2 separate regions of the Homo sapiens genome follow, and region 2 is linked to region 1. Evidence: promoter capture Hi-C in human tissues and cell types (Jung and others, 2019). All regions are on one chromosome and are shown on one strand. The core of a region is centred on a gene start or on the middle of the fragment in contact, and the rest is flanking DNA. Distances in the headings are between cores, read along the strand shown.

Region 1 (6,005 bases), core at 3,506-6,005:
ATCCCAGGTCTCCTAACCCCCAAGTGAGGGCATTTCACACTCCATAGCACAGCAGGGCTGAACTGGGCTGAAGCAGATTAGAGGTGGTTTGGCAGGGTGTAGGGGGTGGTCAGAGCTCAGGAGTCCCTTTTCTGAGTGTCAGGGATGCTAAGACAAGGGAGGACAGCCCTGTAGCCCACCTGGGCATCACTGTTATTACAGGCTCAGCAGCACCTAAGGGAGAGGAGAACAAGACGGGAAGGGAAAGGCAGGGCTGTAGTTAACACACATCCTCCATCCCACCAGCCCTTCAGGCCTGGTCTTGCAGGCACTGGAGCTGGTTCCATGGGTTGCCAGAGGAAGCCTGAGAGAGGGAGGCTGGGAGAGGGGGCGGGGAACCTGATCCTGTGTATATGTCAATACCCAACAAAAACTTGTGTAGGGGGGTGGGGTGCATTTGGGTTACTGGAGTTACACAGACATGTGTGTACATGGATTGTGTGAAGGGGCTGCTCAAGTGCCGTGTGTGCACCATGTATGTGGGTGCACATACGCCTGTGTATATAGCGAGTCAGTGGGCTTGTGTCTCCTGGGTATTGTGCCAGGCATGTGGGTGAAGGCGCTGGAGTTCCTATGTGGCTTCGCTCAGCACCAGGATTGCAGACGGGTAGGGGCGGGCCTGCTCTGGGAGGAGGAGGGGAGGAATCATGTGCCCACCCACCCCCACATGGACCGGCTGCCCACCCTCCAACGTGGCAGCACGCAGGACAGCCCTTTTTGGATGGAAGGCCCCACGCTCCAAGAGAGAGAATCCAAGATTACAGAAATCGTGTTTTCCTGACTCATGCCTTGGGCTGAGAGCACATTCTTGGCTCCTGGACAGCATCTCAAAGAAGAGCTGCCTATAGCAGCCCTGGCTCCCTGAGGGAGGGGGCCGACCCTGGACTGGCTGTCGGAGCTTTCTGGGCTCCAATTTTATACCAATGTAAAAAGAAGGGGATTAAACTTCCTTCCGATTAACGTTCTATAATTAAAAGTGAGACACTAATGACGGTGCCCAGCACAGGCCTGGCAGCGGCAAAATGGCCCATAAATGTCACTTCCTTCTCGTCCACTCCCTGCCTTCCCGTGGATATGGCATAAACAGACCTGATTCAAAACCCAGCTCTGACTCTGGCTTGTTGTGTGCCCTTAACCCTGTTGCTTAGTCTCCCTGATCCTCAGTTTCTTCATGCTGAAAATTGGAACATTCTTCCTTACCTGAAAGGAATAAATATGATAATAAATGTGAATGTGTTGCACACTTAAATGACATGCAAGTTTTTGTCCTAGGATTCTATGGGGTGAAGACTGAGTGAATCTAGCCACTGGGGCCAAAGAAAGCTGTTTCCACAGCACCTGGCAGAACTGGGCCTACATACCCCCCTGGGTCATTAGAGGGTACTGTGGGAGAAAGAGGGCTGGGAGTCCAGGGCTTAGGCTCCAGCCCAGCCCCACCTCTGATATGCTGTGTGACCTTGGGTAAATTCCTGCCCTCTCTGGGCTTCCGTTGTCCTCTCTGTATAGTGTGGATGCAGTTGGACTTGATGGTTTTCTACTTTCTGCTGTCCACACCTCTCGGGACCTAGGGATCTAGAGGATTTCCAGCCAGCCTCCACGTGCCAGGCACCAGGACCACTTCCTTCAGTGAAGCGAGGCACTGGAGGAGTCCAGAGACAAAATGCTTGAGAGTTTCTCTGCTTATCAGACTCTTCTCCCCCACCCCCTAAAAGAGTGCTTTTTCCGGAAAGCTCTGCCTGGAATGTGGGGGAAGGGCCACAGTCAGTCTGGGCTGGGCTCAGAGCTAAGAATATTGTGGCAAAGGCTCTTGACTTTTTTTTTTTTTGCTGATCTTGGAAATTTAAAGGAGCCGTTGCTTTCCCTTCTTCAGGGAGGCTGTGCTAGGGGCACAGCAGCCTCAGGCAGCCACTTCTCATCCCCTGGCCAGCCATGCTTACCCAGTGCCTCTTCCATACTGTCCCCTTGCTGGAGCTGGGGACTCACAGTGACAAGGAAAAGGCCCTGCCCTTCCAAAGTCTCCAGTGATGGTTCACTGACAATACAGGGTGATAACAGAGATAATGCAGCAGTGGGATAGGTCACAGAGGAGGCTTCTGACCCGGTGTGAGATTAGTGGGGGTCGGATGGGGGTTGGGCCTTCAGACCCAGCCCTCCTTAGGCCTCAGCTTTGCTGTCTGTAAGGGCAGGTCCTCTCTTCAGTGACCACTCATGATACTGGGTCTATTTAACAGCATGAGCTTTGGTTTATCCCTCAAAATGGGACAGTCACAGCACTCTCAGTCTCCCCCTCAGGTGTTGGTGAAGCCTAAAAGAGCTAAGAGATGTAAGAGAGTAGAGGAAGGGAGTCTCACTGGGATTGTGACATCTGAACCTGCTGAAAACCCAGGCGACCCTCTCTGTTTTGCCAGCATTGATGGGCACTCTTTGTTTCTGCTCTGCCCTGCCCTCAGCTCACTGACCAAGTCACAAGGAAGCCTGAGGGCCAATGTGGGGGTGGGAGTAGAGAGTGGGGTCTGGCCTGGGACCCGGGAGGTCTCCTTGGATAAACAAGAATTTATCTTTTTTTTTTGAGATGGAGTCTCGCTCTGTCACCCATGCTGGAGTGCAGTGGCATGATCTCGGCTCACTGCAAACTCCACCTCCCAGGTTCAAGAGATTCTCCCGCCTCAGCCTCCTGAGTAGCTGGGATTACAGGCACATGACACCACAGCTGGCTAATTTTCATATTTTTATTAGAGATGGGGTTTCACCATTTTGGCCACGCTGATCTTGAACTGCTGACCTCAGGTGATCCACCCACCTCGGCCTTCCAAAGTGCTGGGATTACAGGCATGAGCCACCGCGCCCAGCCTAGAATTTATCTTTAAAAGCAATATACAGTTGAGGCAGGAGGAAGCACATGAGAACCACGACAGCCACCCCAAAGAGATGGACACCATGCCAAGGCTGGAAGCTTTTGTTAATAATCAGACCTGTCCTAAAAAAGAATGCGGGGCTGCCTCTGAAGGAGGTAAGCTCTCTCTTCTTAGAGGTGCCTCGGTGCTTGCCTTTTTGGGATACTGAGAAGAGGGCTTCTGCCTGGGGCTGCAGACAGGAACCCCTGACCTCTGAGATGCCTTGCAGCTCAGAGTCTTTAATACATTTATTCCAGAATCCTTCGACTCTGAGATTTTAACATGTTAAGATTCCTTAGCTGGATTCAAAGACTCCTTGGGGGCTTTGAGTGGAAGTAATCTCTGATTCCTTGACCCTGAATCACAGAGTCTGAAGCTTTTGGGATCTGAGATTTCCCACAGTCCTTGTACTCAAAAGACTCTGAGCTGCAGAAGCCTACCCAGACAGAGAGGTTTGTCACCACCACCAGGCTTCCCCACAACCACTAACAGAGGGCAGGGACCCAGGTGATTGACTCATTTGCTGGGTACTGGGATTTTTTTGCTCCCCAGGATCCAGGCAAGCACCTAGAAGAAAGAAGATACTCAATGCATTCATTCATGACTGAATGAATGAAGAGTCCCTACCCTGTCCCTTCCTCTCCATACTGCGTCCATCCAATAGCTATCATTAAACTACTAAAGAGGACTTTTCGGAGGGTAGGGAGCCTCGGCTGATCAGAAATTGAGCCACTGTCGCCCAGATTATTTAGGGTTTCCTAAATAATCTGCCTCACTGAATCACTGAATTCCCTACTAACAGGTACATACCCCACAGATGGACATCGCACAGGGCAAGGACTTTGTTCAGCTCTCAGCTGTGTCCTCAGCACCTAGAACAGTAATGAATACCCTAGCTTAACTTGGAGGTCAAGGAGCTATCAGTTTGCGAGGGTGGGGTAGGAATTGACAGTGAGACCTGAGGCCTGTGGGAGGGGACCCAAAGAGGGAGGGGATGCAATAGGGAGGGGGCCAGGGGTGACAAGGATTGAGGAAGGGAGAGAGGGGGGAAAAAAAGCAAGGGATGCCTTAGAACCACATTTCACAGCCAAGGGAACAGAGGCCCAGAAAGGGAAAGTAACCTGCTTAGGGTCACACAGCACCTTGCTCAGTGGAGAGCCAGGTTTTCCTTCCTGTGCACTCCTCCAAGCCCAGCCAGACCACCTGAAGTTCCCCAGGCATCTCTGCCTCTATTACTCCACGACTTGAACTTTCCGGGTGCCGGGCAGGTACCGGGTCTGGTCTGCTCCCTCTCCCTCTGGCCATCGCTGAGGTTGAGGTTTTTTGAATGTACAAGTATGGAGAAGGGCACTGCCTTCAGAAGCCTGAACGTCTCCCCTGAGAGGGAGGGGGTGCACAGGACTCAATTGTTTCAGCTTGAAAATGGGGGAGAGCGGGGAGAAGGGGAGATGGCTCTGCTTGGGGCAGAGCCCCTGCGGGGAAAGGGGCGCCTGAAAGGACGTGCGATTCGGAGTGGGCTAGCTTATGCAGAGAGCCTGGGGGTGGGAGGAAGCTCGCACTCTGAAGGACACGCTGATCCCCGTGGGGACTCCCGGCGCCCCGCAGCCCGGGCCGCCGAGGGAGGCAGTAGGACCCAGGGGCCGGGAGGCGCCGGCAGAGGGAGGGGCCGGGGGCCGGGGAGGTTTTGAGGGAGGTCTTTGGCTTTTTTTGGCGGAGCTGGGGCGCCCTCCGGAAGCGTTTCCAACTTTCCAGAAGTTTCTCGGGACGGGCAGGAGGGGGTGGGGACTGCCATATATAGATCCCGGGAGCAGGGGAGCGGGCTAAGAGTAGAATCGTGTCGCGGCTCGAGAGCGAGAGTCACGTCCCGGCGCTAGCCCAGCCCGACCCAGGTGAGGGGCGGGAGACGCCTGCGTGCGTGCGGCCCGGGGGAGCGCCGAGCAATCTGGGGGTGCGCGAGGGAGTAAGAGGGGCGAGGGGACCCTGCGAAGCGTTGGGTGCCGAGCCAGAGCCTACAAATTGGAGTCCTCGGCACTTTGGGGGCCGCTGGAGGGTTTGGAATCGAGAGCCCAGGGCTAGCCAGTGATGGTGCCAGCTGAGGGCTAGGGCGGAGATCGGAGCCGGGTTGGGAGTCCGTGCACTCGGAGGACTGGGAAAAAGTGCAGGGACCCCTAAAAGGTGGTGGTGGCAGATACGAGACTAGGTGCTGTGTAAAGGGGGCTGGGGGCAGAGAGCAGAGCCTCTGCGGAAAGAAACAGAGGAGGAAGGAGATGGGTCTGGTGCCTCTTCCCGCAAGGGTAGGGAGGATAGGCCGGCCTCGCAGTTCCAGGTCACTTCCGTTCTGGGGTTGAGGCTCAGGGGCAGCGGTGATTGGTGGCCCAGCCTCCTCACAGGCTTGCTGAGGGAATTTGAGCTTCCGGTGGTGGGAAAGGAGGTGAAATCGTCTCGACTCCTGGGGTCCGTGTGCTCTGGTAGAAGTGGGCGACAGTGGCTCAATTTCTGATCAGCAGCTTGCAGCCTAGATGATGGCAGCCAAAGGAAAGACTTGGCCAGCGAGGCTCCCTACCACTCCGAAAAAAGAGAGTGGGGGTCAGCAGGGTCTGCTCTGCTCTGGGGATTAAGGGGCTGACTAGAAGGATTTGAGTCTTTCCTTCTGTCCACTGCCACAGGGTTCTTGGAGTAACTGCAGGGTTTAAACTGCAGGGTCTAACTTCCAGAGGCTGGGGTTCCCTGCCCCCCAGCTTAGAGACATTCCTGAGGTGGCTGAAGAGCAGGAAGGAGAATGAATGCACTTCCAGACTGGCCCAGAGTCTCAGCCCCTCCTCTTCCTTGTTTCCCGCTGGTCCCTCTGGGCTGTACGGCCCGGATGGAGGCCTGAGGAAAATGAGGGGGCTTTGGTTCTCCGGAATTCCGGCCGGGGCCACACCCTCCTGTCTTCAGATGGTTCATGTACCCATCCCCCCTTCCCGTCCTCTCCTTTGTCTCCTCTGTCACCGGGACTCCCAGCAGAGATTTTTTTTTTGTACTGGCTGTGTAACAGGACACCGCATGCAGCCCTCAGGAGGGGCTCTGTGC
Region 2 (6,005 bases), core at 34-2,533, 210 kb after region 1:
TCTTGAGCCTGGCATGCTTAGAAGGCAGCGGAGAGGACCCTGCATGTCCTCCAAGGTAGAACTGAGGTCCTCAGTGAATCGCGCAGAGTTGAAATCAACCCCCGCCCCGCACCCCCCGCAGCTTTTCCCAAGCGAGGAATAGCAACTCTTCCAACCCCCACCTCCCTTACCTAGAGCTGGAGAAACTGAAGTGGGAGGAAGCATGCCTAAGTTTTCCTTAGCTGATGCCTTGACCCCTGGATTCAAGTACAAATCCGGTAGACCCTGGGAAGTCATCACAGCTGTCCTGGTCTGCGTGTGTGTCTTGCATGAAGCCCCTCTCCCTCTTTCTAAGTCTGTATTCTGTTTGCTGAGCCTCTCTGACATGGATTTTTCTTTAGTAACTAACGGTCGCCTACACCGCCCACCTTTGTTACAAAAATAAAGCTTGCTAATTATGGAATTTTTGAAAATATAGACAAATGAAAAAAATTTCTGGTAAATCGACTATCCAAAGATACCTTCCTATTAGCATTTTAGTATATCTCTTGATCATTTTCTTTATACACATTGCATAGATACAATTGAGGACATGCTGTAGATATAGTTATGAATCTTGTTTTCTCCCCCTTAATGTAACATCGAGGTTTCCCTTCTGTTAATCAGAATCACTTACAATGTCCTAGTGGTTGCAATAACCCACCCTGCAGCTGTACCACACTTTAACTGTGACCTAGGCATTGGCATTGCTTCTTGTGTGATTATCGCTGTGGTTATCTGCCCCTCTTGGTGTGGGTGCTGCTCGTAGCCCTTGAAGAGGAACCCAGCTGCTGCCCTGTCTCGGGGGCGAGCAGCTTGAGCTGCCCCATGTATCCAGCCAGTAGCCTCTGACAGCCCCTTCTCTCACTTGAGTCCTTTTCTGTTCCCTGTGTCCTTTGATGTCCTTAGGGACATCAATGGATGAATGGACTTGCCCTTGTTCATGCTGTTAAAAATGTTTTTGCACTGGGCAGTGGGATAGGGATGTTCTCTGTGGTAGTGCTTCCTGGAGACCCCATTCCGTCGGCTCTGCCATCCACAGGCTGGGAGCTGTGTCTTCCAGGAGGCAGTGACCCTGGCTGTCATGTTTTTGACTTAGAGTTTGTTCCTTAGGAGAACTTGTACTCTAGCGAATGGTTTTAACCAAGCCACTTAATATCATGTCAGGAACATTTCCCCATGTTGTTATCAGATCTTGAAAACTTTTTTTTTTTTAAACTGGGTGCAAGGATTTACATCATGGAATGTAGGAAGGGCTGGTATGAAATGCAAACCAGTCAGTTCAGCTTTCTGGGATCTACTTTGGTGAAAGATTGGGTGGAGTAGGGGAGGGCACTGAAGCACATTTTGTTATCTGGGCATCTCCATTAGACCTGCCTTCTAGATCCTTGGTCCTTGAAGATACTCCCCAGTGGCCTAGTTTGCCTCTGTGGGTAAGGTCCCACTGTTGTGAGCTGGTGAACAGCCCGTCAGTGACAGTATTCAAGTAGAGACCATGGATTCTGTGAAGGGAAGTCCTGTGACGGGTGAGAGATTGAAATAGATACCTTGGCATCTGGTTTCTTGGCCAAAAAAAAAGGCCAGCTGTGGGAGTATGGGTAGGTGGGTGCATGCTGGGGGAAGCGGGAGTCTGTGTTGATATTTCCTAATCCTTGGAGGGCTGTCCTGTGCCAGACGTGGAGTTTGCAGAGTTCATCAGGACAGGAGGGATATATATCCTATTCTTTATCCTTGCCTTTGGATTGGGGGCTCTTCGTTCAGAAGAGCCCTCTGACACCTGCCTGTGTCCTCAGGGTTCAGCACAGGACCTAGCATGAGATGTTGGTGGTCCCAGTAAAATTTTGAGCTGATTTGTTGTGTGCGGCTCCAAAGAGTGAGGCCAGGAATAGGAGTGGGATGATGGGTGCAAGTTTTGATGTAGCAGAGGAGTCCTTTCTGACAGCTGTTGAGGACTGCAACAGGCTGGGGTGGGTGAGGATGGAGTTCCACATCACTGTGGATCTGCTTGAAACTAAGTGGCTAGATTGTTGGGGGTAACTGGGAACTGAGGGTTGACAGTCACCTAACCTAGTCCTAAGTCAGAATGAGAACATTACTCTCATGCTTCCCTCTCCAATTCCGTGTGGCTTCCCCCCTCACCTACATCACTTCCCCAGCTGAATAGAGGCCACTTTGGGGCTGCGTCACCAAGGGCTCATCTAGGCTGAGAAAGGAGGGCCAAGAGTAATGTTGTATTAACAGGCTCAGTGACTCAATGGTCAGTGTTGAAATCCTGCCCCACCTCCACCCTCCTGCCCTCAAATTCAACAGCAAGTACTTGAGTTGTAAAAATTAGTGCTGGATCGGGCCCAACCCTCATGTTACAGATGGGATCACTGGAGTCTCCAGAAAGAAGGGACTTTCCCAGGGTTATCAAAGCCAGGCTAGAACTCAGATCCATCTCCCAGTCTGTGGCCTGACTCCTTAAGCCAAGAGAAGGGTTGCAAGGCCGTGAAGGGCTGAGTGCAGGGCTCTGTGCATTGTAGGTGCTCAGTGGTTTGCTGAATGAGTGAAGGTTGTCTCCATGGTGCGGGTGGCAGCTCATCCCTTCTCAAACTTTTTGAGGAAGCTCCCCAAGCCTGCCCTAGTGGATTAGAGCACTAAGATCCCCCAGAGCTTTGGCTGCCAGGTGAATGCCAGTTGCCCCCTACCCACACTCAGTCACACTTCAGACTTTCCAAACTCTTCCTCCTGGCCTATGAAGTAAGCCCCAGGTGAACAGCCTCCACTGCCATCACGACTTCCTCTCCTAGTATGTCACCCACCATGCTGCAGACGCATGGTGGTCTTCCTGTTCCTGCAGCATTACTCCCAATTCAGTCTTACCTCAGCGCCTTTGCATATGCTGCCTGTCTGCCCAGGTCTTCGCATGGCTGGCTTTACAACAGTCAATCTCCTCTCAGAGGTCTTCCCTGGCCACCCTATCTAGAGAGCCACTTCCAATCTAGAGAGCCACTTCCAATCACCACATCTTCTTTTATTTTTATAGCCTTTATCACTACCTAAATTTTCATGCGTGCTTATCTGTTTAAGCAATTGTCTCCCCAGTAAGAATATCAGTCCCTTTGCCGGCCGCGTGCCATGGCTTTCGCCTGTAATCCCAGCACTTTGGGAGGCCAAAGTGGGAGGATCACTTGAGGTCAGGAGTTCGAGACCAGCCTGGCTGACATGGTAAAACCCCTGTCTCTACTAAAAATAAAAAAATTTAGCCAGGTGTGGTGGTGTGTGCCTGTAATCCCAGCTACTTGGGAGGCTGAGGCAGGATAGTCGCTTGAACCCAGGAGGAGGAGGTTACAGTGAGCCAAGGTTGTGCTACTGCACTCCAGCGTGGGTAACAGAGCGAGACTCCATCTCAAAACAAAACAAAAAGAACAAACAGAAAAAGAATATGAGTCCCTTGGAAACAGGAACCTTGTCTGTCTTTCTCAGTGCTGTGACATCTAGCACAGTGCCTGGCACTGGTAATAGGTACTTAGTAAGTATCTGTTAAACGAAGGAATCATTAGTGGGACTGCCCCATTCCTCTTGGAGGAAGCCCTGCTTTTAGCTTCAGTGTGATTCCTCGAGCCTTCCTTGGGCCTCCTCTGTCCCTGTAACCACCTGTGCTAGGGACTGGGTGCTGGGGTTGTAGCTGTTCCCTGCCCTGGAGGTACCCACAGTCTGGCAAGGAGCTGGCTCCAAGGCTGAGTGGCAAGTGGGCAGAGCCAGTCTCAATGGTCACCCTTACTGCTTCCCAGGGCTTATTAGAAGCCCGAGAGCTGGGGTTCCAGGCCTGACATTTTTCTGGGATGTGGCTGGGGGCTTCACTTCCTCTCTGGGGATCTCACTCCTTCTATCTGGAAAATAGGGTCAGAATTCTCAGATTCTCAAGGATGGAGGGTTTGAGTTAACCTGAGTGTGAGTGTTTGTGAACTTGTGACATTCATGTTAGTCCTTGTCATTTGTCCTGTGTTACACATTCAGCAGGCCCCCAACACTGTAGAGAGTGGCAGACCCTGCTCTAGGGCATCCAGGAAGGCTTCACTGAGGAAGGGACTTGGGGTGTGGACCCTTCATTTTATTGATTGAGCACCTTCTGTGTGTCAGCTGCAGTCCCTGCGTTTGAGGAAGTGAGACCAGGGGGATGTACACAAGATGACTGTGCAGAGTGATCTGAGCAATGACAGGAAAGACTGCCAAGAGGTGAGACCGGGGAGCTTGATCACCCTGAGGTCAGGGAAGTCTTCCTGGAAGAGGTGACATTCAGTCCGGATCTGGAAAGATGAATAGACATCAGCAAGACAGGCAAGAACATTCAGGTACAGGAAATAGCATAAATAGAGGCATGAGATTTGGATGGGAGAGGCAGACTGACTGCAGGGCCTCTGAGTGACCAACTGAGGCTGAGGTCTTGGTGTACTGAGAGCCAGAGACAAGAGAGACAGAGAGGATGCTGGATCCAGGCCTGTGGTGGCTCACCTGTGTCTGCAGCAGGAGGAAGACTTGAGAGCTCATGGGAAAGGAGCCTGGTGCAGTTAGTTTATTGGCCTCCAGCACTTTGAGGGCCTCCTGGTATGGAGCTGCTGGCTGATTTGAGGGCCTCATGGGCAGGGCCCAGGGGTAGGAGTCAGGCCTGGGCTCTGTCCAGCTCCTGCTTGGCCACCGAACTGCTCCGCAGCCTCAGCAAGCCACTACCCTTCCTTACCCTCAGTCTCCTCATCTATGAAATGAGCAAAAGTGTCATAAGAACCTGTGCAGATTATGGTGCAGATGCAGACAGGCTACACCCTGTGAACCTTTTGGGTAAATCAATAGAAATGGGAAACACAAACTCCTTTTCTTATTAGAGCAGAATTAGCCATTCTAAGCCCTGCCTCTGCTTCCCATGTGACCTTGGGTATAACACTGCCTCTTAGGGCCTCAGCCTTCTCATCTGCACAGTGAGGAGGACTGGTTGAGATGACCCCCTTGGCTTCCTTACATCCCTGCTGGAGAAATGCGATTCCATTCTTGTCCCTAACTGCTGTGGGACTCTTGAGGTCAGCCACCTCCTCATTCTTGTCCTCAGCTTCTCCTTGTGAAAATGGTGCACTCATCCACTTGGGGCCAAGGTAAGTGCCCCAGAAGAACCTGTCTCCCCATGCTTGCCCATATATTGTGATGGGGACGTATTTTGGAGATTCCTTGGTGACCTACTCGCAAGCTAGTAGTGTTGCCATGGCAGCCCCTTCCACTGCAGTAGCTACTTTTTGAATGTGCTTGGTCACAGTGGGTGGGGTGGGGGAAGTGGGCCCCTGGGGTCCTCAGCAATCATGTCCAGGGTCCTGGATGTAGATCCATGTTCGGTATCAGGAACATGGCATTCTAAGAGTCTCACTTCCTTGGCCTTACCTCTTGGAACTTTGTGAAAGTTCTACTTGATGAAAACGGAATACACAAAAACCCAGGTGTATGGAGTAGCCCGAGGATGGGCTTATATTCCCTTTCGGGAGATCTTCTGTGGATAAAAATTCATTTGTGGATTCTAGCAGAGCACAGGTGGCCCAAGTTAGCAGCACTCAGATTTCAACAAATCCACCCCAGCTTCCTAATTTAGTGCTAATGGGGAAACCTAGAGAGGGGAGGAAGAGGCTTAGCGCCCCTGCAGGTCTACAGATGCTCAGGATGCCTGGCTCCCTGCAGCAGGCCCTGAGGACTGACAGTGCCTGCAGGGTCCTGATGGCCCACTTCCCACCTGGCACACCTAGCATAGCTGTGTGCTGGCTCTCCAGTAGTTTGGCTTCCCCTTTGGGCCAGATGTCCCAGTGGGCCCTGCTTTAAGGATACCTCATTTGCAAAACAGAACCGTTAAAGCGAATTGTTAATCTTTTCAGAAAAGAACTCACTGGCGTTTTGGGACCAGTTCTATAGCTAGCTAGCTGCCCTAGGGCTCTTAGGCACCAGTGGAGGGAGTGAGCTCTGACTGGCTG

Evidence for each region. Contacts are between HindIII fragments. The study calls those that stand out against the background at their distance.
Region 2: a contact is called between a fragment that was not itself captured here and the fragment with the promoter of SERPINH1 in region 1, in 1 of the 25 tissues and cell types used here (IMR-90 fibroblasts).

Annotation. Positions count from the first base shown.
Region 1 is chr11:75,557,498-75,563,502 of GRCh38, forward strand. It overlaps SERPINH1 (serpin family H member 1), which reads left to right and starts at 4,756. Exons shown (of 5, transcript NM_001235.5): 1 at 4,756-4,822. RefSeq lists cis regulatory regions at 747-977, 1,450-2,300, enhancers at 1,313-1,854, 4,436-4,975, 4,976-5,516, 5,517-6,005 and silencers at 4,492-4,751, 4,762-4,811. The HindIII fragment of the contact is 16,066 bases long and covers 3,151-6,005 here.
Region 2 is chr11:75,769,579-75,775,583 of GRCh38, forward strand. The region is part of intron 1 of DGAT2 (diacylglycerol O-acyltransferase 2); the gene reads left to right. Among named protein-coding and RNA genes, the nearest start is that of DGAT2, 3.8 kb to the left of the region's middle. RefSeq lists enhancers at 3,758-3,907, 4,048-4,277. The HindIII fragment of the contact is 5,867 bases long and covers 1-4,217 here.